Regions from separate parts of the Homo sapiens genome. Here all the other regions are linked to region 1. The links are contacts of gene promoters, found by promoter capture Hi-C in blood cells and fetal thymus (Javierre and others, 2016). All regions are on one chromosome and are shown on one strand. Each heading gives the region's core, a stretch centred on a gene start or on the middle of the fragment in contact. The rest is flanking DNA. Distances are from core to core; before and after follow the strand shown.

Region 1 (5,050 bases), core at 1,114-3,613:
TATGTAAGAACATTAAGAACATACCTGCCATACTTATACTAGAATGTAAGTTCCTTAAGGGCACAGACTGTGTCTGATTCATTTTTGTTTTCTCAACAAAAATGTTGATGGGGTGTTAACTAATTGTATAAAGTAGGAATAAGAGTCAGTTTCGTAAATGTTTTTTAAAAGTTGACAAAAGTATTTTCATTTTGATTCCAAAATTAAAAAAAGCTAATAAAGATATTACAATATTTTAAAAATCCAAATTTTATGAGAGTTCTTGTCTGGATGAAAATTAGAATACATTCACATTATCTCAAACGAATGAACATGTGTGACTTTATAAAAACAATACCTCCCTAAACCATGAATTCAGATGGAAAAACTCGACATCTTTATTTCTGCAGTCAGTCTCATTTTTCTTAAAACAGTTCAAACTAGTAAGAATTTTCCAGAAGTTACAGCTTGACTCACCCAACCTTCCAAGGAAAAAACAAAAAAACTTAAACAGACATTGTTTCACTCTCATCATTTCCCACCCTTACTAATAGTGGCAACTTAAGTGTATCTTAAAGCACTCCAACCTCTTCATAGAGCCTATTAAATGAGTATCTTGTGGACACCCACACACAGTCATAGAATCCTAAGTGGTGCTCAGACCAGTCACATGTCAGTGCATTCTTAATTGCTAGAGCTAACATGCTCTCAGCATGGTCTTTTAATTACACCCTAATAATTTATTATAGTTTCTCTCTACAATGTAAAGTCTTGGAAATCACCCACTAAAAAGTGCCTGTGTACTCTGGGGCTTTGGCAGGCTAGGGCAGAACTTCTGAGAACACGGTGTGTTCCAGAGAAGACAATCAATCTGAGAGGACTTACACAGAAACAGTTCATTCAGGACCTGGCTGCTGGCTTTTATCTGAGATCTGAGGATTTCACAATCACTTGGAGATACCTACAAGTGTATAGCACACCTTGGATATTACTCTTAATGATTACTTCATTTTGTAAAGAGGTGACTCCACCAACAGCAAAGGAGAGGGCCCAGCCCCAGCCACCAGGAATACAGTTCTCTGCCAGTAAGTGCCTAATGACTCATTTTCCTCAACAGAATTTTCATAAGGCTGGAATTCAGGGAGGGATGTCTGGAGAATGTCTGAAAGGAAGTTCACAAGCCACTGTCCTGCTCTTTGCTGGAGAAAGTGTCCCGTGGTAGCCAGAGAAGTTGACTAAGGCAAACAGCAACATGTTTTGGTAACATTTCCCCATTACCTTTCATGTACAATCCAAGAAAGGTTGCCATGAAGTGTTTTAATCAGGTTGGGAACATTATAAACTTCGAAAAAAGAAAACCATTAGTGGAAAAATTAAGGACACAGTAGATTTAACAACTGTGTTTACGTGGAACCACAAAATCTATCCAAGTGAATTGCATTAAAACAGACAGAACACTCCAAGAAACTGTTGTATGTGTATTTTTTTTAATTCAGTCAACCATTTTACTAATCTGTCAAGATGACCAATTTCTTTGGAATTATGTAGATTTAGCCAAAATGAAATTATACATAAGATTTACTTTTCTTTTCAGATGCTTTTTTATTTATTTTTAAATCTTTATAATTACTAGATGTTCTCCTCTCTCAGAAGATATTCTGAGAGGAAAGCAAAAATACCACTCTTGTAAAGCCATTTCCATTCTTCCAAAGGTCTGCTGGTAAATTATTCTTACTGATCTTTCCATCTTTCTAGCCTGTGCATACACACCTAACCCATACTAAATTTCACCAGATGGCATTTTATTTCTTTAAAGTAAAGCAGCCGTGGGTTTAGACAGTTGAATTTTTAAACTTCTGTATTTACTGAAAGTGCATATGGTGCTATATGGACAAAGAAATTGTGCTGAAAGAAAAACATTTCTGTCTGCAATACCTCATAATCTTCCAGAGGAAAAAAAAGTGCAGTTATATGGCACATTTCTCACAAAATCTTATGTGGCTTCAATGTTCTTCCTCTGTTAAAAAGTAGATATATGTTTAATGTACAGACCTGCAAGTTTCATTATTTTAAATTCATCTTTTAGTGGCAAATAAAAATGTTATGCAAAACCCAATGACTTGCTAAAGTGATCCTTCAGTGAATTCTAGAAGAAAATGCAACATAAACCTGAACTGGTAAAAAAGAAAAAATAAAAACCTCTGTATGTCAACGTAAGCAGATGTTGGTGTAGTTACAAGGATGAGAAGGCTATAAAACTTCCCTTGAGTCACTCACAGTTCATTTGAGGGCCAAGAACGCCCCCAAAATCTGTTTCTAATTTTACAGAAATCTTTTGAAACTTGGCACGGTATTCAAAAGTCCGTGGAAAGAAAAAAACCTTGTCCTGGCTTCAGCTTCCAACTACAAAGACAGACTTGGTCCTTTTCAACGGTTTTCACAGATCCAGTGACCCACGCTCTGAAGACAGAATTAGCTAACTTTCAAAAACATCTGGAAAAATGAAGGTTAGTATAAGCAACCTCAAGTATTCTTAAAAAATTAGGGTTGGCTGGATTGAACGTGATCAGAGTTTTCTATTGTTTAGAAGGTGAAGATTTGTACATAAGTATTTACTTCCTCAATGGGTTGGGATTGGAAAATTGTTCTAAATATACTGTAGAAACATTTGTCCTTGCAGAGCTGGAAGAATTCCAGCAATTATAGCCGGATCAGTGGAAAACAATCAAAAGCTTTGTGGGGCGAGAGAAAAAGGATTTAGGTGTAAACAAAATCTTGCCATTTCTACTATTTAGCAGGAACTGTGTGTATGCCTAATTCTCTTTATTTTATGTAGACTTGGGTAAAAATCGTATTTGGAGTTGCCACCTCTGCTGTGCTTGCCTTATTGGTGATGTGCATTGTCTTACGCCCTTCAAGAGGTAAGAACTTTCTCTGATTTGCTCTATCTGCCTAGAATAGCTTGGAAAATGTACTAATGCAAGATCACAAGTGGTTGAACATTTCCTAAGTGCTTATGTTCCAAAGTAAGTCTGTTATTTCTAAGAAGACATATAAGCTCACAGATATGTTGTTGTGCAAGACCAGAAATACTGAGGAATTTAAGGCATGGGTAGGAAGAGATTTACAGTGTTATTTCAGCAATAGAAAAACCTAAGAACTATGCTGCATCACCCCCACAACCCCCAAAAATATATGCTAAATACAAGCTTTGACAGGCCTTTAGAAACAACATTTTTAACTAACATTGCTTTTCATTATTAGGTTTGTCTCGTGGAAAGTAAAAATGAGTAAGAATGGAAAAGTTAAAACAGAATCTATGGACTTTTTTTATTACTAAATAGTCTTTCCAAAAATTTAGGGAGGAAGTTGAGAATACAGATCTCAGGAATAGCTGTATAGAAAAAGCAAAGTTGTTGTTTTAGATGTAGTAGCACTGCACATCAAATTAGAAAACCAAACATTGTTAAGCAAGCATTTTGATCAGTCATAAATTGGATCCTTTTACAAAAAAGGCTTAGATTGACACTGATCTCACTTTGCTAAAAATTGGAAGGTACTATGGGCTGATATCAGAGCTAGTTTAAATATAAAGTAGGACTATGTTGATAGATAATCTAGTGATATTAGGGAAATAGCTTTTTATGAAAATATTTATGAAGAGAAACTCAAGCTTCTGAAATGGAAAAAAAATCCAGTAATAACAGGTCTTATGTCTTTGTGTCTAGGAAAGGGGAAAAATTTGTACTAATAAATACTAAAAGTTTATGATAACAAATGTGGGAAATATCTTGGTTAAAAGTTAACTGATAGTAAATGAAGATCAATAAAATAACTTCAGCTAAAGAATGTATGAGTCCTGAATGACTGGACTGTTGCTATTAAAAAGAACATAGAAAAATGTTTTCGAAAATTAAAAATAATCATGAGATTTTCACAGAATTACAAAATAGAATAGGTTAACCCATAAGATGAAGTCAGCTGATATCTTCAGTGTTAATTTCAGTCTTTGTTTCTGCTCTCTGCCAGCACAAGATTCTTCTTAGGCTGTTGAGAGGTATGTAGTGTGTGTACATATCTTTCATAAATTTTCATGTTAAAATTGTTTTCAGACTCATCTCTGAACTCAGTGGTCTTGGGGCCACATTTCCCTCATACCAGCAATTGTCAGGTAGTGGATTAGGTCATATAGATCCTTTGAATGTTAATTCATTAAAAATTAGCTCCTGATTTTTAAAGAAACTCAACCTTGAAATTGATACTCTGCACCCTCAGAAATAAATGTTCTTGGAACAAAAGTTTGTTAATTTTATAGGGCACTTGCCTCCATGTCCATAGGGAAGGATGAATTTCACTATGGAATTCAAGCTATAATTTCTAATAAGAAATGCATTATATTTACATATTTACAAATGATGTATAGAGATACACATACACAGATATTTGTGTGATCACATATAATCTCAATCCCTACCCTCTTTCCAAGTTTAGTTATGTATAGCTTACATATAAATATACGTCGTAAACTATATATAGTATAAAAGTCCTATGTAATTTATAATACAATTCTATTTTCAACTAACAGGAAAATTCTAAGAATAAAGTGATTTCTTGATAGGGTGAAATAATCAAATTAAACTCAAGTACTCAGTGAAATTTGAGTACTCATTCAGAAATAGAAAAATCATAAATAAGGTGAGAACTGTTGTTTTTTGGTTCATTATATCATTCTCTTTCTCTTCTAAATTTGCTGAATAACTTCTCAGAATGTCAGCTAAACAGCTTGTGAATGGCACTAGTCATTACCCTACTTTCCTGAGCAGGACCCGGGGAAGTCAGTGCCACAGGCAGCCCTGAAGTTAGGCGTGGTGGCCTCCTAATTTTCCTCCTTTCTTCTCACATCTCACTGGTCAATCAATCATCTCCCGTCTGGAGTGCCAGGTCCAGTCCTCACTCTCACATCTGCCCAGTGCCTATGAGAATAGGATCTGAGATGGCAAGGCAGGAAAGGGAAGGAGGAAGGGGTAAAAAGAACAGAGAATTCAAAGCTAAGCGAGCTCCTACTTAGCCT
Region 2 (5,050 bases), core at 1,798-4,297, 940 kb after region 1:
CCTATGCACATCCTCCTATATACTTTAAAATCATTTTTAGATTACTCATAATAACTAATACAATTAAATACAATACAAATAGTTATACTATATTGCTTAGGGAATAATGAAAAAAAATGTCTATACATGTTCAATATAGATGCAATTTTTTTTTTCCTTTTTTGAGACAGAGTCTCGCTCTGTTGCCCAGGCTGGAGTGTAGTGTCGCAATCTCAGCTCACTGAAACCTCTGCCTCCAAGGTTCAAACGATTCTCCTTCCTCAGCCTGTCCAGTAGCTGGGATTACAGGCACACGCCCCCATGCCCGGCTAATTTTTGTATTTTTGTATTTTTAGTAGAGAAGGGGTTTCGCCATGTTGGCCAGACTGGAACTCCTGACCTCAGGTGATCCTGAGCCTCAGCCTCCCAAAGTGCTGGGATTACAGGCGTGAGCCACCACGCCTGGCCTAGATGCAACTTTTTTCCAAATATTTTCAATTTGTAGTTGGTTGAATCTACAGATGCGGAACCCAAAGATATGGAGGGCTGACTCAAGAAATTTAGTGGCATGCACTGAGAGAATTTATAATCTATCGGGGCAGGTGGGTAGAAGCAGCTTGACACAAACCCATAAAAAATATGTAAAGGGAAAGGACAGCAGTGTAGAGTGAAAAAGGCTCTTGAACCAGTTGACCTCAATTTGAATCCGGCGTCACCACCTACTCACTATATGACACTAATTTTTACCCTCTTCTAGACTCTAGACCTCATTTATAAAGTGGGGATAACATCTACTTTGCAAGTCTGTTGTAAAAATACGTCCAAAGCAATTTATAGTGCCTGGAACATCCAAGGTACTCAATAAATGTTGTCGTTGCTATTCTTGTTATAATTGTTATTATTATCATTTTAGAACTAGAAGAGATTATTTAATCAAGTTCTCCCATTTCACAAATAAGGTCACCAAAGTATCACACACAAAGCAGAATACGAAATGTCAAAATGACTGCAACAAACAGGGAATATGACAAGTTCCTGAGCAAGAAATCACATGGATATTCAGGCAAGGCTTTCACAGGTGGACACTGAATTATTAAATGAACGTTACTACAAAATTGAAAATTAAAAAAGCACAGTTGCTTCTTGTTACTGAAATAAGAGGACTAGATTAATCTCTTCCACTTCTAAGATAATAACAATAACAACAGCAATAATATTTATTGACTTTCATACATATGGTTCACAAACTATATATTAACAAGCACATGGTTTACATGGCCAGTATGAAAATAAGATGAACCCATGTCAAACAGATTAAAATTCAGCTTTTTCTCTTTTTTTTGAGACAAAGTCTCACTCTGTTGCCCAAGCTGGAGTGCAGTTGCGCGATCTTGGCTCACTGCAACCTCCACCTCCCAGGTTCCACCTCCAGCCTCCTGAGGTAGCTGGGAATACAGGCACGTGCCACCATGCCCGGCTGATTTTTTTATACTTTTAGTAGAGACGGGTTTTCACTATGTTAGCCAGGCTAGTCTTGGCCAGGCTGGATCATCTCATGATCTGCCCACCTCAGCCTCCCAAAGTGCTGGGATTACAGGTGTGAGCCACCGCACCCGGCCTAAATTAAAATGGCAATGTATTATTTACCAAGCACTTTAGGCTGAAAAAAAAACAAAAAACCAAAAACTCCCAAAGTCAACAGGTGAAGCATCAATAAAAGATCATCACTTGAAAACTTTCTTCCCTTGGCAAGATTTAGGGACAAATTCAAGACAACATTTAGCCTTTTTCACTAAATAGCACTTCACTAAACACACCTTAACTGTAGTTAATTCAGAACCACTATATATCTTAACCTCTAAACTTCAAATGAGTCAGCTGGTAGGTAGCCTTACGTGACAGGAAGGCCACCATTATATTAATCATCTCCACTAAAACTGTGTTCATGTTTTTGTTATTTCTACAGTATCAGTGCATGTCTTGCTGCTTTTCTCAAACACATTAAGTCAGAAGCACTAAAAAAACACTTGTGACCAGTGGAACAAAATCACTTTCACACTATAACTCTATTTTATGCTCATTTTTAAACCCTTTCCCCTGCCTTTCCATAATATTTTATCAACTTATATTACCATTTATTTTCTCGAGAATTTTTCCTTCAGTCACTAGGTTTATAGACTCAAAAGTTTACATTCTTTTTCTTTTGACAGACACAGAGCTACATCCCCAGGAAAATTAAGTTGCAAGATGTAACATACGGTAGCAGATTTCTACTTTACTTAAAACGAGAAATGTAATCAATTTACCAACAATTACTCAATTAGTATGATATTGAAAGTAAGTTAACAGCCATAGTAGCACACTTTGTTTTTAAGATATTCAAGGTCCAAAAGCAGTGTATCTGCAGGACTTTTGTTTACTTTTTGGAGGGAGCTGAAAACCTAACACTAACAGAAAAAGGGTTAAGGCTTACAGGAAGGACAAGAGATAAAACAAACGTATTCAATGGGAAAGTTAATTCTACTCTCTCTCCCTTGTTTTCCCGGTCTGCTTTGAAAAACTTCAAAGCAGACCGGTTAACAACTATGGATAGAGCACAGACAAACAGGCCATAAACAAGGATTCTCTCTATATAGATGGAAGAGGTTCCCATGATGTGAATTCGGCCAAACAGAAAAGAATGGAGAAAGGAGGCGACATCCAGACCTGACCCTGCCAGAGAGCCCTGAGAGCAGGCGAAGAGAATGAAGGAGGCCGGGCTCCTCCCTCGCGGCCCAGGCCTCCTGTGGCAACTCAGCTGGGCAACGTGACTCAGGAAAGCACGGGGCTGGCGGCGGCCTAGCACGGCTGCCTCCCCAGACCTCCCAGGCCTGCCTTCTGGGTCTTACCTGAAGACGGGCGGGAGCCGGATGCCGCGATATGGACCCTTGTCTTGCCTCTGTGGTGACGCGAAGACAGAGGCAACAGCAGCAGCGGCGCACACCCGACGCGGCTCTGTCTGCAAACCGGCGATGAATCAGCCCGATTCCATTCAAAAGAGTTGCCCGGGCCTCCGCCGCGAAGCACTTCCGGGTTCACTAGTTTGCTTCGGCTTCCGTTCCCCGACGGCCAATTGGAGACGACGGAGAGTCAAGCGGATGTCCAGGAGGAGCTCTTGGGACAGACGGCGCGGGCGGCCCGGCGTCTCCTGTCTCTGGCAGGACTGTGAGGCGGCACTTAGCGCCCTGGTCGCTCGCGCCCCGCCGACGCCTCCTTTTTCTCTCCCTACCTCTGCGCTCTGCGGCCGCCGCTGAGATCTGGGACGGCGGCACATCCAGCCCGGGAGACGACTGGCTAGGAAATAGAACTGTTAGTATTTTGAAGCCCAGATCCCCTTTCGTTTTGGTGTTCACTACTATTATTGCCCTCCTCAAAAACTAAAAGGTTCATTTGAGCTAGATTTAACTTGGTTATCTGAGAAGAAAATTTTTTTAAAAGAGGGGGGATGGTGTGATTAGAGGGGACCGGTAAGACGCCCTTTTCTGTAAGTCCGCTTTATCCACCTCTTGTCATTATTGCTTTGCAAGGATTGGATTTCAGGGAAAACTAAGGTTTCCCAAATGTTCAAACCACCTATTTTAAGCCGAGTTTAGTTTACAGGGTTTAAAGAGTCATTTATTCACATTTCTCCATGTAATTATCGGCAATCACATTTTACTCATGATCTACTTTGTGCTAGGCTTTCAAAAAGCAAAGTTGCAGAAGATATACTTGACAAGTTGATATTACACTCTAGGTCTAGGTACAGTCTCTGTTTAAGGCAGCTTGTTTGCCACGTTCCTGTCACTTTCTCAAATATGTTCCAAATAACAAGCATCTTTAAAGCATTCCTAAATCGAGAATGGTGATGAATCTACTGGACAGAGGGTGAGGAAAGATTACAGCGCCTGGATCCAAACTGTGATTTGAGTAGCACAATTGCTTTAAGATATTAATACCTTTAAAAACACAAAGATTATTTTACTCATAGGTAATATTTGGATCCACATCTTTATGCTTCCCCCCCAAACCTATGCCTCTCTATTCATTTTTTATGGGAGGAGGGGGTGAGTAGCCCCGTCCTCCAAATAATTTTCCTAATCAGAAACTTAAGAGTATGAACACTTGCCTCTTTTTCATCTCTCCCCACTGTAGAAACCATGAAATGTGTAATCTCCATAACAGCTTTTCCAATCCACCACTTCCCCTTCTAAATACTCCCCACTTTGGCCTTAACTCAGACCTTCCTCACTTCTTTTTTATTTTATTTTATTTTATATGTATTTATTTATTAATGCATTTTTGAGTTAGGGTCTTGCTTTGTCACGCAGGCTGGAGTGCAGTGGCGCCATCTGGGCTCACTGCAACATCCCGTCCCCGGGCTCAGGCAACCCTCCCACTTCAGCCTCCTAGGTAGCTAGGGCTACAGGCGCTTGCCACCATGCCCAGTTAATTTTTATTTATGTTTTTATTTATTTTATTTTTTTAGTAGAGACAGGATTTCACCATGTTCCCCAGGCTACTTTTTTAGAATGCTCTTTGATCTTTCCGCCTTCGGTCTGATTCCTTTTAATCCATTCTCCACCTCACTGGTAAAAATTTTTGTGCTATATGTAGTCATGCTCCTTCTTTATTTAAAATTCCACTAGTGGCTCCCCATAACATTCATTATAAAGGTCAAAAAAAAAAAAAACCCTTAAACTTTGTTTGGAGCACCTTTTGCTCCAGCCATACTAAAGTATTTAGCTGGGGAATAAGATGTCCATAGGGCTTTGAAAAACGCTAACATATTCCTGAGACTGTAGAAGGTGCTTAGGGTGTGCATATGTCTAGGGTTATGTGAACACTCAAGATAGGCCTGAGAAGGCCCTGAGCTCTAACCTCTGGGTGACCTTGAGGCACTACAGAAGCAAGAAGTGAAGGCTAAGGCAGAATTATTTGGTTGGTTGGTGCAAAAAATTGCGGTTTTGTCATTTCAACGAAATTACTTTGGTACCAACCTAATGTAAAGTGCTTGGCTGATTGTTGAAGGCTTGTCCCAACGTAAGTACTA
Region 3 (5,050 bases), core at 1,611-4,110, 680 kb after region 1:
AAGCTTGTTCATTCCAAGGGCGATAACTTACAATGAATTTCTTTCTGTAATGCAACCAAGCAGCCAAAGTCTTGCCTCTCTGTCTAGAAAATTTATTCAAGAAGAGAAAGTAAAAGACTGCAGTCATAACTGAGTCTCAGATGTAAAGGCATTAGTGGAGAGTAAAGAACAAGTCTCTCTGGAGCCCATATCTGGCTTCAGTTCCAAGCATTGCACATTTAGTGACAGGGCCCTTTATGTTCACCCCAGGATCACACTTCTCAGAGCCCCTTCACCAATCATGCTACAACTGCTGGCAGAAAGGACCTTTCAGCTCCATGGGGCTGGAGTTGTTTCCTGCTTATCTTGGACTAGGGGTGTTCCCAGGAAAGCCTCAGTGTTAGAATGCAATGGCCCAGAAACCACAGCTTATCCGTTCCCAGAAGGGAAGACTTTCACAAGTTCCTTCGTTGGAAAGAAATTCGACTGATATAAGAAGTTTGAAACCCCCAATCAGACTTACAATCTCCAAATTCTCTCTAATGAAGCTCTTGGGAGCTGTACAAAAAGGCTGGACTAAGTGCAATACCACCATAAAGAAGAGTAGAGTCAGTGGTATCACAGTGCTCTTTAAAGGATACTTCATCCTATTTTGTAGCTGGAGTTTCATGCATCTGAAGCTGCAGTACTGGTGTAAGTAGTGTTGACCTGGACGTCACTTAAGAAATCTTTGGGCTCTGTTCTGTTCCATTGGTCTATATCTCTGTTGTGGTACCAGTATCATGCTGTTTTGGTTACTGCAGACTTGTAGTATAGTTTGAAGTCAGGTAGCGTGATGCCTCCAGCTTTGTTCTTTTGGCTTAGGATTGTCTTGGCAATGCGGGCTCTTTTTTGGTTCCATATGAACTTTAAAGTAGTTTTTTCCAATTCTGTGAAGAAAGTCAATGGTAGCTTGATGGGGACAGCACAGAATCTATAAATTACCTTGGGCAGTATGGCCATTTTCACGATATTGATTCTTCCTATCCATGAGCATGGAATGTTCTTCCATTTGTTTGTGTCCTCTTTTATTTCATTGAGCAGTGGTTTGTAGTTCTCCTTGAAGAGGTCCTTCGCATCCCTTGTACGTTGGATTCCTAGGTATTTTATTCCCTTTGAAGCAATTGTGAATGGGAGTTCACTCATGATTTGGCTCTCTGTTTTTCTGTTACTGGTGTATAAGAATGCTTGTGATTTTTGCACATCAATTTTGTATCCTAAGATTTGCTGAAGTTGCTCCTCAGCTTAAGGAGATTTGGGGCTAAGACGATGGGGTTTTCTAAATATACAATCATGTCATCTGCAAACGGACAATCTGACTTCCTCTTTTCCTAATTGAATACACTTTATTTCTTTCTCCTGCCTGATTTCCCTGGCCAGAAATTCCAACACTATGTTAAATACAAGTGGTGAGAGAGGGCATCCCAGTCTTGTGCCAGTTTTCAAAGGGAATGCTTCCAATTTTGCCCATTCAGTATGATATTGGCTGTGGGTTTGTCATAAATAGCTCTTATTATTTTGAGATACGTTCCATCAATACCTAGTTTATTGAGAGTTTTTAGCATGAAGGGTTGTTGGATTTTGTCAAAGGCCTTTTCTGCATCTATTGAAATAATCATGTGGTTTTTTTCTTTGGTTCTGTTTATCTGCTGGATTACATTTATTGATTTGCATATGTTGAACAAGCCTTGCATCACAGGGATGAAGCCCACTTGATCATGGTGGATAAGCTTTTTGATGTGCTGCTGGATTCGGTTTTCCAGTATTTTATTAAGGATTTTTGCATCAGTGCTCATCAAGGATATTGGTCTAAAATTCTCTTTTTTTGTTGTGTCTCTGCCAGGCTTTGGTATCAGGATGATGTTGGTCTCACAAAATGAGTTAGGGATGATTCCCTCTGTTTGTATTGATTGGAATAGTTTCAGAAGGAATGGTACCAGCTCCTCCTTGTACCTCTGGTAGAATTTGGGTGTAAATCCATCTGGTCCTGGACTTTTTTTGGTTGGTAGGCTATTAATTATTGCCTCAATTTCAGAGCCTGTTATTGGTCTATTCAGGGATTCAACTTCTTCCTGGTTTAGTCTTGGGAGGGTGTATGTGTCCAGGAATTTATTCGTTTCTTCTAGATTTTAATACCACACATCTACAACCATCTGATCTTTGACAAACATGACAAAAACAAGAAATGGGGAAAGGATTCCCTATTTAATAAATGGTGTTGGGAAAACTGGCTAGCCATATGTAGAAAGCTGAAACTGGATCCCTTCCTTACTCCTTATACAAAAATTAATTCAAGATGGATTAAAGACTTAAATGTTAGACCTAAAACCATAAAAACCCTAGAAGAAAACCTAGGCAATACCATTCAGGACATAGGCATGGGCAAAGACTTCATGTCTAAAACACCAAAAGCAATGGCAACAAAAGCCAATATTGACAAATGGGATCTAATTAAACTAAAGAGCTTCTGCACAGCAAAAGAAACTATCATGAGAGTGAACAGGCAACCTACAGAATGGGAGAAAATTTTTGCAATCTACCCATCTGACAAAGGGCTAATATCCACAATCTACAAAGAACTCAAACAAACTTACAAGAAAAAAACAAACAACCCCATCAAAAAGTGGGTGAAGGATATAAACAGACACTTCTCAAAAGAAGACATTTATGCAGCCAACAGACACATGAAAAAATGCTCATCATCACTGGCCATCAGAGAAATGAAAATCAAAACCACAGTGAGATACCATCTCACATCAGTTAGAATGGCAATCATTAAAAAGTCAGGAAACAACAGGTGCTGGAGAGGATGTAGAGAAATAGGAACACTTTTACACTGTTGGTGGGACTGTAAACTAGTTCAACCATTGTGGAAATCAGTGTGGCGATTCCTCAAGGATCTAAAACTAGAAATACCATTTGACCCAGCCATCCCATTACTGGGTATATACCCAAAGGATTATAAATCATGCTGCTATAAAGACACATGCACATGTATGTTTATCGTGACACTATTCACAATAGCAAGGACTTGGAACCAACCCAAATGTCCAACAATGATAGACTGGATTAAGAAAATGTGGCACATATACACCATGGAATACTATGCAGCCATAAAAAATGATGAGGTCATGTCCTTTGTAGGGACATGGATGAAGCTGGAAACCATCATTCTCAGCAACCTATCACAAGGAGAGAAAACCAAACACCGCACATTCTCACTCATAGGTGGGAACTGAACAATGAGAACACTTGGACACAGGAAGGGGCACTTCAAACACCGGGGCCTGCCGTGGGGTGGGGGGAGGGGGAGGGATAACATTAGGAGATATACCTAAAGTAAATGACGAGTTAATGGGTGCAGCACACCAGCATGGCATATGTGTACATATGTAACAAACCTGCACATTGTGCACATGTACCCTAGAACTTAAAGTATAAGTGAAAAAAAAAGAAAGAAAAAGAAATCTTTGGAACTACAAGGGGCATACAATGGAGCTGACTTCAATACATAGTTAATAATTTAAAATGGCATTTAGAGCAAGAAGAGGGAGTGAAAAGAATAAAATTATTGAAATCTGTAACAATTATATAGAAAGTAAATTTTTTATTAATGTGAACAAAAAAATGAAAAGGTGACTGCTATACCAGATGCACAGATATCAATGGAAGGACGTAGGAAACATGAAAAAGTAGGGATTTTTGACACCACACAACAATTGCATGGCAGCAGATCCAAATAAAAAAGAATGCCTCAAAATGCCAGATAAATAAACCAAAATATTGATTTTAACAAAGCTCAATGAGGTGCAAGAGAAATATGAAAAACAGTACAAAAAAGTTCAGAATATGGATGAGAAATTTACCAAGGAAATAGATATCTTTTAAAAAAATGCAGATATTGTGGATGTAAAAAATTCATTGAAGAAAATACAAAATACATTTGAAAGCTTCAATAATAGACTAGATCAAGCAGAAGAAAAAAATCTCAGAACTTGAAAACAAATCTTTTTCTTTCCTTCAATTTTTATTTTACGTTCCAGGGTACCAATGCAGGATGTGCAGTCTGTTACATAGGTAAATGTGTGCCATGGTGGTTTGCTGCACAGATCAACCTATAACCTAGGTATTAAGCCCAGCATCCATTAGCTATTCTTCCTGATGCTCTCTCCTCCCACCCCTTACCCTCTGAGAGGCCTCAGTGTGTGTTGTTCCTCCCCATGTGTCCATGTGTTGTTATCATTCAGCTCCCACTTATAAGTGAGAACATGTGGTATTTGATTTTCTGTTCCTGTATTAGTTTGCTGAGGATAATGGCTTCCAGCCATATCCCTGCAGAGGACATGATCTCATTTCTTTTTTATGGCTGCATAGTATTCCATGGTGTATATGTGCCACATTTTCTTTGTTTAGTCTATTATTGATGAGCATGTGGGTTGATTCCATATATTTGCATTGTGAATAGTGCTGCAATGAGCACATGCATGCATTTATCTTTATAATAGAATGATTTATATTCCTTTGGGTATATATCCAGTATTGGGATTGCTGGATCAAATGTTATTTCTGCTTCTAGATCTTCCACAATAACTTACATTCCCACCAACAGTGAAAAAGTGTTCCTTTTTCTCCACAGCCTCACCAGCATCTGCGCTTTCTTGACTTTTTAATAATCACCATTCTGACTGGCATGAGATGGTATCTCATTGTGGGTTTGATTTGCATTTCTCTAATCATCAGTGATGTTGAGCTTTTTAAAATATATTTGTTGGCCACATGAATGTCATCTCTTGAGAAGTGTCTGTTCATGTCCTTTGCCCACTTTTTAATGGGGTTGTTTGTTTTTTTCTTGTAAATTTGAAAACAGGTCTTTTGAAATATTCCAGTCAGACAAAAATAAGGAAAAAACTAAATAAAAGAATTAAAAAAGGCTTTGAGACATCTGGGACTACACAAAGTGACCAAACTTATGTATTATCATTATTCCCAAGGGAGCAGAGAGATCAAATTTAGAAAACCTACTTTAGAAAAT
Region 4 (5,050 bases), core at 1,631-4,130, 660 kb after region 1:
ATGTTCATTGCAGCATTATTCACAATAGGCATGACATGGAATCAGTCTAAGTGTCCAACAGCAGATGCATGGATAAAGCAAATGTGGGGTTTGTGTGTATGTGTGTGTATGTATGTATATACTTCCTTTTCCATATATCACACGTACTATGGAATACCATTTAGCCTTAGAAAAAGAAGGAAATTCTGTCATTTGCAACAACATGGATGAACCTGGAGGACACCATGCTAAGAGAAATAAGCCAGTCACAGAAGTTAAATTCTACGTGATTCCAATTATCTGAGGTAGCTAAAAGAGTCAGATTCATAGAGGCAGAGAGTAGAATGGTGGTTGCCCCAGGGCTAGGAAGCTGGGGAAATGGGGAGATGGTGGTCAAACAACACAAAGCTTCAGTTACGCAAGATGAACAAGTTCTGGAGATCTAATGTCCAACATGGTGAGTATAAATAATAATGTATTGCGTACTTGGAATTTGCTATGAGAGATCTTAAATGTTTCTCCCCACAAAAAGATAACTATGTGGGGTGATGGATATGTTAAGCTTCATTGTAGTCATCATTTCACAATGTATACATACATCAAAATATCACGTCATACACCATACGTATATACATTTTTGTCAATTGTACCTCAATAAAGCTGGAAATAAATAATGGTAGCTTCGAGGTTATGAATGTGTTAATTAGCTTGATTGTACTAATCATTTCACAATGTATATGTATATCAAATCATTACATTTTATACCTTAAACATATATATTTTTATTTATCAATTATATATCTCAATAAATCTTGGGAAAGATTATTTTAATTTTTTAAAGTTCAGATAAGCAATAAAACATATGATTTTCTTTCCTCTCCAAAATAACCAAATTCTGATCTTTTTTTCTAACTCAAATTATACTGACATTTCCCAAATTAGGTCAAATGTAAAAATACATATTATAGGTATAAGTAAATAGTCTCAAAAGCGTTGAAAAAAATGTTTATTATGGGTATTGTCATCTATGGGTACGCAAGAGCTTAAGGTTCAACGTGCATATGGGTGCTTTCCATCTGAAAACCTTCTTCTAAGTATAGATTTTCCTTCCCTTCAAAGAAAAAGGGAAAATATTCAAGGATAGGTGCCAGTGAGGTTAATCATCTTTGGTCATTTTAAGAGCGGTTTACTCCTTGCTTTTAAATAACTTGCAAATAAAAGCAAGAGAGTTTGGTTAAACTTCCAGTTCCCAAAAATAACTGATTGTAAAACTATTTTTTCTGTCTTTCTTTAAGCTCAGAATACTTTCTTACTAATCCTTTTTTCACTTTTCCAAAGCCATTTACCCACCAATAGACCCCAAATCTTAGAATTTAAATTGACAATATGTTATCTGTGACCTAGGCTTTAGTGCCACTTAGTGTTCAAATGATAGAATTACAGCAAATCAAACCAAATCTAGCATCGTTTAGTCTACTGCAGCCTCAAAATATTTCCTCAGGATTTACAGACATTAATTTGAGGCCTCTGATTCCTACCTGCTTTACTCTGCCTGATATATATGAGAAAGACAGGAAACTCAGCATATACTAGATACCTGTCGGGAGCTAGCTCATACGAAAGCAAGGAATGAGTGCCAGAGATCTTTTTTTCGTTCTTTCTCAGCTTGAATCATCTACTACTGTGCCATGTCTCCAAATATAAATTGACTTACTGAAAGAAGAGGAGAGAGAGAGAGAGCATTTGTTTGGGGGAGGGGAGGTTTCACGAATTCAGGAACGAGACGTAACTAATAAGTCCCACGTTAACAGAAAATTAACATATCAATAGAAGTTTATCAACAAATACCACCAGTTATTGAGAACTAGGTTATGTAATCTTAATTCTGTTAAATAATATAAAGTAAAATAAGCAAGCTGGCATCTTCCATTTTGCACAACAAATTTCATGCCAATTTTGCAAAATTTTTATTCCGTAGAAAAGAAGAAAATTTTGAACACTGGTATATTTTATTAACAAGCAATGAATTTAAAAGCTAAACACTGGATACTCATAGGCATAAAGATGGCAACGATAGATACTGGGGACTACTAGAGTAGGGAGCGGGGGAGGGAGACAGCCAAAAAACTATTGGGTACTATGCTCACTACCCAAGGGATGAGATGATTTGTACCCCAACCTTAGCATAATACAATATACTTATGTAACAAACAGGCACATGTAACCCCTGACTCTAAAATAAATTAAAATTATTGTTTAAAAATTTTAAAAAATTGGAGTTTTTCTAATAAAAAACAGAATATAGGAAATATATTAGAAAGAGTAGAAATCGGCAAATATAAATGGGAAGAAGTTAAAGAAAAGAAATAATGATAAAACTATGGCCAAAAAAAGAGTCAAAAAAAATTCACATGGAAATAATAAATAAAACATCATTCAAGTTTACCCAGGAATAACATTATGACAACTATCCATTAGAAGACTAAAATAAAGATCCACCATGTGGAAAAGGATGGAAAGATCAAAATTTTTTCTCTTGTAAATCTGTGATTATACTTTTTTAAAATCTTACATGCAAAAAGAAGTAAATTAAAGAAACTTTCTGGTAACCTTTTCTTTTTTTTTTTTTTTTTTTTTTTTTGAGATGGAGTCTCCCTCTCTGTTGCCCAGGATGGAGCGCAATGGCGCGATTTCCACTCACTGCAGCCTCCGCCTCCCCAGGTTCAAGTGATACTCCTGCCTCAGCATCCTGAGTAGCTGGGATTACAGGTGCCCGCTACCATGCCCAGCTAATTTTTGTATTTTTAGTAGAGACGGGGTTTCACTATGTTGGTCAGGTTGGTCTCAAACTCCTGACCTCAGGTGACCCACCTGCCTCAGCCTCCCAAAGTGCTGGGATTACAGGCATGAGCCTCCATGCCTGGCTGGTAACTTTTATGTTTTTAAAAAAATAAAATTTCTTTATTGTAGAAACTTTGGAAAATTAAAAATAAGACCCACTCATATTCTAACTAGAGAAAATCAGTTAATATTTTCATAAAAACATTTTCAGTGTTTTATCAATACAATAACGTGCAATTTTTAAATGGAATCTTAATGAGTTAATGATCTGATTTATTCCCTTAACACATAAAATGCCATCAAAAACTCTTTATTTATTTATTTTTATTTTTATTTATTTATTTATTTTGAGACAGAGTCTCACTCTGTCTCCCAGGCTGGAGTGCAGTGGCACGATATCGGTTCACTGCAACCTCCTCCTCCAGGTTCAAGTGATTCTCCTACCTCAGCCTCCTGAGTAGCTGGGACTACAGGGACGCACCACCACGCCTGGCTAATTTTTGTATTTTTAGTAGAGACGGGGTTTCACCAGGCCAGGCTGGTGTTGAACTCCTGACCGCCGGTGATCCACCCGCCTCGGCCTCCCAAAGTGCTGGGATTACAGGCATGAGCCACCGCACCCGGCCCAAACAACTCTAAAATATCACTTTAAACAACTACTGGCATTCCATTTTATAGATGTATGCTAATTAATCAGTCTTCTATTGTTGAACATTTTGGTTGTCTACAGTTTCTAGCATTATAAACAAATATTGAGTTAACATCATCATAACTAAATCTCACATATACACAACTATTTTCTCAGGATTCATAACTAAAAATTAAATTACAATGTTAAAAACTATAACTGAGTTTTAAGGGATTTTGTGGGTAATTTTCCCAATGAAAGGATTTACCAATTGTCTGGTTTTTCCATATCTTGCCAAAAATGAACATAACCATTGTTTAAAACTTTTGTCAGTTTGATAGACAAAATGTTCTCTAGTTATTTTCATTTCCATTATTTGTTTTCCAGAGAGAAAATAAATATTATATGTTTACTAGCCATTGGGTGTCTTTGCAAATTGCCTGTTGATGTCTCTGGCCACCTGTAAAAATGGAGGGAAGTGTAGCTTAGTGGTTAAGAGTACAGACTCTGGGGTCAGACAACCCAGGTTTGAATCTTTCACTCATGACTAACTGTAAGACCCCTTTAAGCCTTAACTTCTTTATCTATCTATAAAATAAAGATAATAAGAGTACCTAGCTCTCCAGATGAAAAGATGATCTGGTATGTGCAATATGCTCTTATATTTTAAGAGCTCTTTATAAGGATTTTCACCCTTTGTTCACCATATGTGTTGCTCCCATTGTTCCGAGTTGTCAGTTGCCTTTCAATCTTGTTTATAGTGGATTTTGGCAGACAGTTTTAAATTTTTTGTAGTAAAATCTATCACTCTTTTCTTCAGGATATTTGCCTTTGGTATCATGCTTAGAAAGGCAACAGATTTAGAGGAGTAAAGATAGTACAACTTTTTCAGGAAAGCAAAATATATCTGGCATGTGTATTGTGAATAACATAAAAATCCAACATTCCTCTCCCTATGCACCTCTACTAAGCAGGCACCATTTTTAAATAACATCAGTCTGAAAAAGAAATACACAGAAATCACAATGTCAAGTAACTATACCCACAACTTCCAACGATCATGGCCTATTGAGTTCCCTAGTTGGCCTAGATCTTCATCTTTGCCTTAAATAAGAGGGATATAAATATACCTATAGACATACCATAGCAAATTAAATTAAGTTCCTCTTTTTTTAACCAATTTCCCAGATGATTGTGAAATATTCATAATGAAATTAATCATTCCATAAATCAAAGAAGTAGCCAGAATCAGTCACATCTGAGATCATCTGGTTTGTGAGTACAAATTTATTTACCCTACCCTCAGCAAATATAACAAAAAGACTTTCAAGGTTTAAGGAAAATAAATCACTAATAAATTAGCAAGTACTGATCATTTGAACCAAGATGATGTTTTCTCTTCAGCAAAGGACAGTGCACACAAGCTGAAATACCAAACTATGACCTGATTCTTATCCATGTCACACACAATAGCATTATTTATCAAGGCCTAGTTACAGAGACAGTATTTAATCAACTAATGTCTCTGAATTAAAACTATAAGCAGCTAAACATAATTGAAATATAATAATTTTTCAAATTTATATTAATACTAATTGAATT
Region 5 (5,050 bases), core at 1,437-3,936, 640 kb after region 1:
ATTTTTAAATCCACCCAGGCAATAAAGCAATTAAAAAGCAAAAGAATATATATTCCCAATAGTATTTAGAATGTGGCCTTATATGCTGTGGGCACCTTCCCTATTCCTGCTAGGCTGAGTCATTATTTTCTACTTCTATTAATACCAGCAAGTATTACAAAAACCAAAACTTGAGACTGGCTTTTGGTTTAATGGGAAGCTTATGAAAATCATCACCTTTTATCAAGAGCATGCTTCAAAATGAAAGTCAGCTATTGCCTTTTCGGTTCCTATGAATTACCTGTCTAGATTAAAGTGTCTGCCTTAATAGTACTTCATTGTCTTGTTCTGCTAACTTGTCTGCCTGGTTTCTGGTCTTCTGCCTTCCCCTAATGTTCAATTGGTTTATCTATAAACCTGAATTCTGCCTGCCTGCCTGGTTTCAGATTCACTTCTTCACCTGGAGTCACAATTCATATCTGACTCAAAAAGTCCAATTATCTGCCTCCAGACAGATTATCTAGTATACCCAAATGCTAACTTATCTCAGTCTCAATTCTGTTCTGCTCCCTGCTGCTTAAGCCCAAATGAATACTCTGAAACTTGTACCCTAAGATCCATAAAAAAATGAAGTCATTTTAGCATTATGTATATATACACAAATTACATTTATATTAAGACTAGAAACAAGTATTCAAGAACACTGAGCTGGAGTCAACAATCATTTTCTGTCTAACACAGTTTGAAAACCAACTGTACTCTCTACAACCTGGTTTAAATAACCCAATTTTTGTTAGCACTCATCTCAGTTGTTTTAGCTAAATCTCAAATAGATACATTAGTATACGCTAGAGAAATGTACAGATTTCTGCATGTGCCATGTATACCCTATATATTTACTATCATCTCTTGAAATTATTATATGTGTCAATTAACAAAAGCTAAGGGAAAATATCAACTGAAAAACATTTTAATCTGATTATAAGATTTTATTTTTGGTTTACTTTACACTTTAATATGTAATAACTCTCTGGGAAAAACTTGGGTTCCAGTAAGATTTAATGACTTTAAGTGTTTACATATTTCTACTTTTCAGCACAAATTTGTGATAACATATAAACTATACTTTGAATGTTATGTGCAGTGTTCAGCATTTTACACAGTAAATTCACTTACTGTTAAAAACATTAAAAATATTTTAATTTTTCACTTAAGTACAATATTCATTAAGCAACTCTTAAATAGTTAATATGAAAGCACATGGATCAGTACACTACTAAATTGTGAGAAATTAAATGTTATAACCCCAAGTATTGCTTTAGGAATAACATTTTAAATGTATGTTCCCCTTTAACATAAAATAAATGAATAGGCAACTCAGACCTAATGAAATAATCGTATTTATAATTCAGCATAATGTATTATAAGGGTTTTTTATTTGACTACAGCTTATATAATAGTATAGAGCATATTTGCTTAATCTCATTTAGTGAGACCCAGAAACTATTTACTATGCAAATCACAATTTTTTAAAGCAAAATTTAAAGATTACGACAAAGAGGAAGAAGTAGCCAATTCATCCCAATAAATTTAATAAGAAGTTCAGGCATCTTATAATCAGAAAACTCTATTGAGGTAAAATTCATATAACATAAAAGACACCATTTTAGTCATCTTAAAGTGCACATTCAGTGGCATTGAGAACATTCACAATGTTGTGCAACCATCCACCAATTTCTAGTTCCAGAACATTTTCCCTGCCGCAAAAGAAAGCCCATGCCCATTCATCAGTCACTCCTCATTTGCCCCAAACCCCATGCCCTAGCAATCAGTAACCTTTCTGCCCCTGGGAATCTGCCTATTCTGGATATTTCCTACAAATGGAATCATACAGTATGTGGCCTTTTATGACTGGCTTCTTTCAGTTAGTATGAAGTTTTCAAGCTTCATTCTTATTGTAGCATGAATTAGTACTTCATTCCTTTGTATGCCTGAATGACATTCTATTGAATACATATACTGTATTTTGCTTAGCCACCCAACTGTTGATAGACATTGTGGTTGTTTCCGCTTTTTGGATATGGTGAATAGTGCTATGAACATTTGTTTACAAGATTTTGTTTGAACATCTGTTTTCATTTCATATGAGTGTTTACCAAGGAGTGGAATTGCTGGATCATATGGTAACTGTAAGTAGGACTTTTTGAGGAATTGCCAAACTGTTTTCCACAGAAACTGCACAATTTTATATTCCCACTAGCAACGTATGAAGTTTACAATTTCTCCACATCTGCACCAACACTTGTTATTTCCCATTTTTTAAAATAGCCATCCTAGCAGTGGAAAACAACATCTCATTGTGGTCTTGATTTACATTTCTGTAGTGACTGATGATGTTGAGCATCTTTTCATGTGCCTACTGGCCCATTGTATATCTTCTTGGAAGAAATGTCTATTTATGACTTTACTCATTTTAAAAACTGGGTTGTCATTTTGTTGTTGAGTAGTTAGGGTTTTAACATATTCTGTATACTAGTTCCTTACCTGATACAGGATTTGCAAATATTATCTCTGATTGTGTGGGTTGTCTTTTACTTTCTTGATAGTGTCCTTTCATGAACAAAAGTTTTTGATTTTGATGAAGACCAATCTGTTTTTTTCTTTTGTTGCTTGTGTTTTTGTTGTCATATCTAAGTAGCCAAAGCCAAACACTAGGTCATGAAATTTACTCCTACACTTTCCTCTAAGTTTTATAGTTTAGCTCTTACCTTTAGGTCTTTGATTAACTTTAAGTTAATTTTGTATACGGTATGAAATAAGAGTCAAACATCATTCTTTTGGGTGGGCGCAGTGGCTCATGCTTATAATCTCAGACCTTTAGGAGGCCAAGGTGGGTGGATCACTTGAGTCCAGGAGTTCAAGACCAGCCTGGGCAACATGGTGAAACCCCGTCTCTACCAAAAAAAAAAAACAAAAAAACAAAAAAAAATCATTCTTTTTATCAGAAACATTTTTATTGAGATCATGTTCATGTAATATAAAATTCACCAGTTTTAACTTTTAAAATAGTTTTTAGCATATTCACAATGTTGTGCAACTACAGCACTAATTCTGGAACATTCCATCACACCAAAAAGAAGTCCCGCTCCTAATCACTGGCAACTACTAATCTCTAATTTCGTTTCTGTCTCTGTGGATTTGCCTATTCTGGACATTTCATATAAATGGAATCATACAATATATGGCCATTGTGTCTGGCTTCTTTTATTTAGCAGAATGTTTTCAAGGTCATCCATGTTGTAGTATGTATAGCTATTTCATTTCCTTTTTATCAGTGAATAACACAGCATTACATGGATTTTTATTCATGTAATTCATCAATTATATTCATCAATTAATGAACACTTTGGTTGTTTCCACTTTTGGCTATTTTGAATAATGCTGTTATGAGAATTTACAGACAAGCTTTTAGCTAAAGATATATTTTCCTTTTGGCGGAGGTATATACCTAAGAGTAGAATTGCTGGGTCATATGGTAAGTCTACATGTAATTTTTGGGAAACTGTCAAACTATTGTTCAAACTGGCTCCATCAGTTTAAGTTACCACCAGTAATACATGAGGATTAAATTTCTCAAGAGTTAAATATCATTCTTTCATATGTGGCTATCTGGTTGCCCCAGCATATTTATTGAAAAGACTATTCTTTCTCTATTGAATGATTTTGACATACTTGGTCATCTTTGTCAAATGGCCATATATGTATGAGTCTATTTCTACACTCTCAATTTATTACATTTATATAGACATATGTCTATTCTCATATTCGTACCACATTGTGTTGATTTCTGTAGCTTTGTAGTCAATTTGAAATGTGAAAGTATGGGTCCTCCAACTTGGTTTTTTTTCAAGATTGTTTAGGCTATTTAGAATCCCTTATTATTCTATATAAATTTGAGGATCAACCTTTCCATAAATGCAAAAAAAAAGGGCTATTGAAATTTTGATAGGGATTGCAATGAATTATGTAGATCACTTTGGGAAGTATTGCTATAGTAACAACATTGTCTTCCTCAAAAGTATTCCACTGAAATGAGAGAAAACATAAGAAAAGAATAAATCCATAACCATGTTACAAAACAGAGAAGAATGGATGAGAATGGATGAGAAAATATGAGGATGAGAATGGATGAGAAATGTGAGGATTTTCTGGAAGCCAAAAGCTAATGGGATCAGAAAAAGAGAGCAATCAGAGCAGAAAAACCACAACCAAAGTAGGTGTGGCTGAGAGCTACTGAGAAGGTAGCATTCTTAAAGATTTTCAAGAAAAATTCTGGGTTAACAATCCAAGCAAAAGCCGACAGTAGACAAGCCAGCATTTGTCAAACCTGAATATGAACACAATGCACTTATTTCTTATTAAATATGGTTCTTACTAAAATACAAATTCTGAGGTGAAACCTGAGATCCTGCAGTCCTAAAAAGCTCCTCCCAGGTGATAGGAATGCTACTGGTTCACATATAACACTTTAAGTCTGAAGGACTAATCCAGTGCACATTAAAAATCACCTGGGGAGCTTTTTAAACAATGCCTCTGTGCAGGTCACAGGCCTTACCATTTAAATCAGAATATAGCAGGATGGGAACCAGGCATAGGTATTTTTTAAAGACCCAGGGTGATTCCAAAGTGCAGAACAATTTGAGAACCACTAGACAAATCAACAGTAAATTTAAAGACTACCTGATATAAGCTGACTAAGATACACTCTTCTCATCTCCCTTCTTGTGAACACAAGGCAGATACTTAGGCGATTTTCACTGTGATAAAGCTATGATAGTTATTTAAACAAAGTGGAGACCCACCAGATTAGTAGCGGCAGGAAGAAAGGAGAAGGCATGGCTCCTAATCTATATATAAGAACTGGAGAGAGAAGCAAAGCAGAAACCAAGAAAGTTGGCTCCAAATCATGACAGAGATTAGGAAAGAGGCACACACTCAAAAATGAAAGACCTTAAAATGCTTCATCTCCAGAGAAAAGCCTTCTTTACTAATACTTCTTTGCCCACTCTCC
Region 6 (5,050 bases), core at 1,525-4,024, 620 kb after region 1:
AAAGATCTGCACATGGATGTTTATACCAGACTTATTCATAAATGCCAAACTTGGAGGAAACCCAGATATTTTTCAGTGGGTATATGGATAAATAAACTGTAGTACATCAAGACAATGAAATATAATTCAGTGATAAACAGAAATGAGATATCAAGTCATGAAAATACATTTAAATGCCTATTACTAAATGAAAGAAGCCAATCTGAAAAGGCTATGTACTGTGATTCCAACTATATAATACTCTAAAAAATGCAAAACTATGAAGAAAGTAAAAAAGTCAGTGGTTACCAGGGGTTAGTGGAAAGGGAGGGATGAATAGGCAGAGCACAGAGGATCTTTAGGGCAGTGAAATGACTCTGTATAATACTATAATGGTGGATACATGTTATTATAAATTTGTTCAAAACTATAGGATGTCCAACACCAAGTCCTAATGCAAACTGTGGACTTTGGGTGATAATGTTTCATCAACTGTAACAAATGTACCACTCTGGTGAGAGATCTTGTTAATGGGGGAGCTATGTATGTGTAAGGGGCAGGGGATATATGGGAAATCTCTGTACCTTCTGCTTAATATTGCTGCGAACCTATATCGCTCTCAAAAATAAGACCCATTAAAATATATATACATATAATTCCATAAAAGATGCAACACACACAAATTATTCCCTTTTTCTAAAAAAAAAAAAAAGTAGTACACCCCAAAGAGTATCTGAGACAACTGTTTGTGGTGCGAGAATATATTAAAACTTCAATCTAAATTTATTTTACCTAAAAATAAAACATAAAACTTAACTAATATTTACTATATAGATTGACAATGGTGTCCTCACAGGAAGTCAAATGATCATTGTCATGTGTCCTATGTGATATGGGAAAGGAAGAGTTGAAGTCTCTCTCACAGAAGGGCTGAGAGTGGCATCCACATTTCTCCATTTACTTGCGGGCCATCGTAATACACTGCAATCTATTCATGCCCAGTTTAGACTTCTGAAGCAACCATCATTCAAGGTTAGAAAGAAATGATATATTGGAAGTATCATTGTATTCTGACCATGCTCTCTGACTGTATTTTGAGTTCCAGACCTTGGCCCAGATATTTTCTAACTCTTCATCATAAACTAGCCCACTTCCTAATCTGATCTCAATATTTTTATCATAAACATAATATTAATAAATAAGTAAACTCAATACTTATAGCCTTCAGATTCTACCACTCATTCCCAACCTTAGCATTTTATACATATATTTTATTTCCATAGTCACTCACCATGCTAGAGTAACAATTCAAATCATGAAAGTAGAAACGGGGATTAATTTCTTATACTGCATTTTGCTTCCTACTGACTACAAGGTGTAGTGAGTATGTTTTCTTTAAACTCAGATTATAATTTAAATTTCAATGCAAATTGAATAGAAAAAACAATATTACTTAGCCATTCCATGTGCTCTTTTTGTTACTTTGACATTTTAGTCCCATTTTTCTTTCCCTGATTTAATTACATTAAAGACTTTTTATAACTTTTTTCCACAAATAAAACAATTCAATAAACTGGGCCACTTGGAAATATGGAATTAGCATTTTCTAAAAGTACTAAATCCAATCATCTATCCTATATCATCAAATTATCTTTTAAAAGTGAACTTTACTGTAGTTTTATACCTTAGGGAAATGTTATGAGTAAGCTCAACTTAAGTCCTTTTTCAGACATCAGAATCTTAGAAGGGATCCAAAGTAGACTCACTGTAGATCACCCAAGATTAAACGTCATGAGATATAAATATAAGTTATATATTCTTCTGGAAGCTTCTTCCATGGCCTGATAATTTTTAAATTGTTAGGTTACTCCTAAAAGCAAATTCAACATTGAATATCAAAGGAAAATGTGAAATCATAATGCAATCCTAAATATCAGGCTTCATACTTTTAAAAGGCTAATTCCATTCTTACTAAAATGATATCACCATTATTACTGTTACATATATTCTCCATATATATCCATATCAAAAAGGTTATAACAATTATTAAATATTTTGAAGAGAAAGCAGCAGTCTCTTAAAAAGTTAAATCGAGTCCTATTTCTAGTCTAGCTGGAGTGTGAGGTTTCACATATATAGGGTGTTTGCCTGCCTTATTTATTGCTGCATCTCCAGCACCAAGAATGTGTTTGGCCAACAGTAGGCACTTAAGAGAACACATCTTTCTGACACACTTTTTCTGTAACTTCAGACATAGCAGTCAGTTGTTACCAAAACCAGACTATACACTTAGCCAACAAGAGTGAACGCCCTAACCCTTGGAGTGATTAGAGTCTACAAAATGCAATGATGGCTTGTCCAGCAAAAGGAAATTATCACTGAAGCTTCCTAAGAAGGACTGGGAAAAAAAGAGAAACATATCTAGGCCTCCTCTGCCCGTATCCTTCAAATGTACTTTATATATACTATACTAAATGGAGGTAAACCCTGGGAGGCTTAATGAGAATCTGTTCCTCCATTTCACTTGAGTCAGGATTAATACATTCACTCATTTGACATACTTATCTATTCTTATTTTCCTTTCTCTTTCACTTCCCTATCTTTCTACCTCTGACTGCTTCTGTCCCATATCTAATCTTGGCTTTTAATGCCTGTCCAATTGGCTCTCCAAGCATACTGCAAAGTTTTCATAATTATAACTAAAAAACGCCACCTCCCACCTCCACTATGAAGAGTCTTTTCCAGTTCTCCATTTTCCATTTTTCCTTCTTGGTAGAAAGTACTGACAAGCCACTTCTCATAAAAACCTGAAACCTATACATCCTCTCAATATCTACTTTGAGATGAATATAGCAATAATATATTCATTTTACAGCAACATTGACAATGATAATAGCAAGTTTTATTGAACACTTACTAAATGTCAGGAACTTCATATAAGTTATTTAACTGATTCCAAAACTCAAGAGATATATAATAACATTCCCTTTTCATTTTTCAGTTGAAGAAACTGTAACTTATAACTTTCCCAATATCATATAACAAATAAATAGCAGTGTTTGGCCTTGACTGAGTTCTAAATATTATGCTATATTGCCTCTCACAAAATTATTTGCAAAGTCGTCTGATTAATTTTCTAAAACAGAGCCCAGAGCTCTCTTCCAAGCGTAAAAACTTCAGCCCAGGAACTGATCATGTTAAGCTTGGTTAAGAATGTAATGTAAAAAATATTGAATTTTTAAAACAATTTCTGAACTAGTTTTAGATGACCTAAATTCTAGTCCTGGTTTCATCACTGGGTGATCTTAGACATGTTATTCAGACTCCCTGTGCCTCAATTTCTCACCTTGAAAATGAAAATAATAAAATCTGCTTTACATAACATGTTTGTTTTGAAAATTAAACAAAAAAGGTTTTCATAAAAGCAACTGGGGGAGTTGCTATACAAGTATAAAACTGGACCAGTAATTCAGCATCCTCTCTAGCCCCTCAGGCTTGTTTTTCTTGTGATGATCTGCTAATATGATTCCCTCTTACCATTAAACTGTCACTATTTTGTACTGACCATTAACCCCATGACATGCAAACTTTTGACTCTGGCCTTCAAAAATTTCCATCAGATGTATTGTAGACCTTCTTTTCAGGAAAGACTTGTATTTTCTCTGCTCTTTTAAGCTATAAATTGGTTGCCCATCTAGCCCAGTAATGTCATCCTCTTTTAAATTCCTCTAGTTAATCCTCATTTGGTCCTAAACCCTTTAACTGTTCCCCACAAGTGACAATCCATAAGCCACATCAAACTGGCTTTAGCCTGCTTTTCTAGGACAGGTTCCAACACCCCACCCCACCCCCACTGCCAGCCAAAAAAAGGGTTGGGGGTTTCCCTAAACCTTCCCTAATCCCCATACCACGATTCCTGTGTATAGTTCCCGTCTCTCATCCAGGGAAGAAGAGTTCCCTGGTATTCTTAACAGTATTTATTCTGAGTACTAACAGAATCCTAATTTATGTATTTGTTCAAGTTTGGGAAGATAGACAAATCTTTTACACGTATTTTTTTATAACTCCACTTTGATGCCACAAAGAAATATCTCTATTTTTAGGCAGACAGGGTAATTGACAAACTTCTTTCTCCTGTTCCCTTTCTCCCGGCCCCCTACCCCGACACTGCCCCTGTCCTCTGTTGAGACTCTATTCTTGGTGGTAACTCCTTGCATTCTTCCCATCACTCTGCTCCCTCCCTGCTCAAACCTGGCGTCCGCAGGAGAACTGGGCATGCTCAGTCGCCACAGTTGATTCCGGGGATGCAAACTGGAATCTTTTTGCAGCATGTGAGCCCGGCAGGAGAGGTAAGGCCCTGAAAATACTGTGGCCCAGAATTTGCCCACTCCTCCTACGGAAGCATTTTGTTGAAAACCTAGGAATGGACTCGGAAATGGACAGCTCACCGCCAGTCCCTTCCGCGCAAGGTGGGTCACCAACCTTAGTAACAGGGAGCTGAGAAACAGCCCCTCCGTCTGGTTTGGTGCAGGGAGGGGATTTCTGCTGTGGTAGCACTGATAGATGGCTGGAAGCTATGACTGTCATCTCTGTTGCATCAAGAAAATACTGGGTTTTTTTTTTCTTTTTTCCTTAAACACAGAAACAGCAGCTGCTCCAGACAGAAAAAGATGTTGCCTGAAGATCTCCAAAGTCTGCGAGCCAGACAGAGAGATTGTGGAGAGGATAGGCAAATCCATCACTTACACAAAAATTAAATGTAGGGAAACAGCTTAAGAACCCAGAGGTAAACAGATGGGCTATTACCAAATGACAGTTCAGAAACCTTTCTAATATTCACATCTGAATTGTGTGCCTGTCCCCCAAAAATGCATACCTTCTTTGTACAAAAACCATGACACATTTGCCTTTGAGAAAGAGACAGAACACACACACACACACACACACACACACACACACACACACACACACGATCCTTCTGTTCTTTCCCCTGGTTTCTGTAGAGACTAAATCTCTAGAGCTGCAACAGCAGCAGATTCCCTCACCTCACTGCCTGGGGATGAGGCAGGGG

What was found. Contacts are between HindIII fragments. The CHiCAGO score rates a contact against its expected background, and 5 or more counts as called.
Region 2: the fragment with the promoter of PSMD14 here is called in contact with the fragment with the promoter of FAP in region 1 in 2 of 17 cell types (M2 macrophages and M0 macrophages); the score reaches 7.7 in M2 macrophages.
Region 3: a fragment that was not itself captured here is called in contact with the fragment with the promoter of FAP in region 1 in 5 of 17 cell types (total CD4 T cells, fetal thymus, naive CD8 T cells and 2 more); the score reaches 7.2 in total CD4 T cells.
Region 4: a fragment that was not itself captured here is called in contact with the fragment with the promoter of FAP in region 1 in 7 of 17 cell types (naive CD8 T cells, naive CD4 T cells, total CD4 T cells and 4 more); the score reaches 8.9 in naive CD8 T cells.
Region 5: a fragment that was not itself captured here is called in contact with the fragment with the promoter of FAP in region 1 in 4 of 17 cell types (activated CD4 T cells, fetal thymus, total CD4 T cells and 1 more); the score reaches 6.2 in activated CD4 T cells.
Region 6: a contact is called between a fragment that was not itself captured here and the fragment with the promoter of FAP in region 1, in 2 of 17 cell types (non-activated CD4 T cells and activated CD4 T cells). The highest score is 6.3, in non-activated CD4 T cells.

Annotation. Positions count from the first base shown.
Region 1 is chr2:162,240,758-162,245,807 of GRCh38, reverse strand. FAP (fibroblast activation protein alpha) reads left to right here and starts at 2,363. Exons shown (of 26, transcript NM_004460.5): 1 at 2,363-2,486; 2 at 2,816-2,900. The coding sequence starts at 2,481. The HindIII fragment of the contact is 18,804 bases long and covers 1-2,713 here.
Region 2 is chr2:161,306,422-161,311,471 of GRCh38, reverse strand. It overlaps PSMD14 (proteasome 26S subunit, non-ATPase 14), which reads right to left and starts at 3,047. Exons shown (of 12, transcript NM_005805.6): 1 at 2,868-3,047. RefSeq lists an enhancer at 2,720-3,179. The HindIII fragment of the contact is 7,205 bases long and covers 1-5,050 here.
Region 3 is chr2:161,564,111-161,569,160 of GRCh38, reverse strand. It overlaps the pseudogene MTNAP1P1. Among named protein-coding and RNA genes, the nearest start is that of SLC4A10, 58 kb to the left of the region's middle. The HindIII fragment of the contact is 2,220 bases long and covers 1,751-3,970 here.
Region 4 is chr2:161,583,098-161,588,147 of GRCh38, reverse strand. No RefSeq gene overlaps it. Among named protein-coding and RNA genes, the nearest start is that of SLC4A10, 39 kb to the left of the region's middle. The HindIII fragment of the contact is 4,673 bases long and covers 544-5,050 here.
Region 5 is chr2:161,600,365-161,605,414 of GRCh38, reverse strand. No RefSeq gene overlaps it. Among named protein-coding and RNA genes, the nearest start is that of SLC4A10, 22 kb to the left of the region's middle. The HindIII fragment of the contact is 1,521 bases long and covers 1,926-3,446 here.
Region 6 is chr2:161,624,967-161,630,016 of GRCh38, reverse strand. The region is part of intron 1 of SLC4A10 (solute carrier family 4 member 10); the gene reads right to left. Among named protein-coding and RNA genes, the nearest start is that of SLC4A10, 3.1 kb to the right of the region's middle. The HindIII fragment of the contact is 818 bases long and covers 2,366-3,183 here.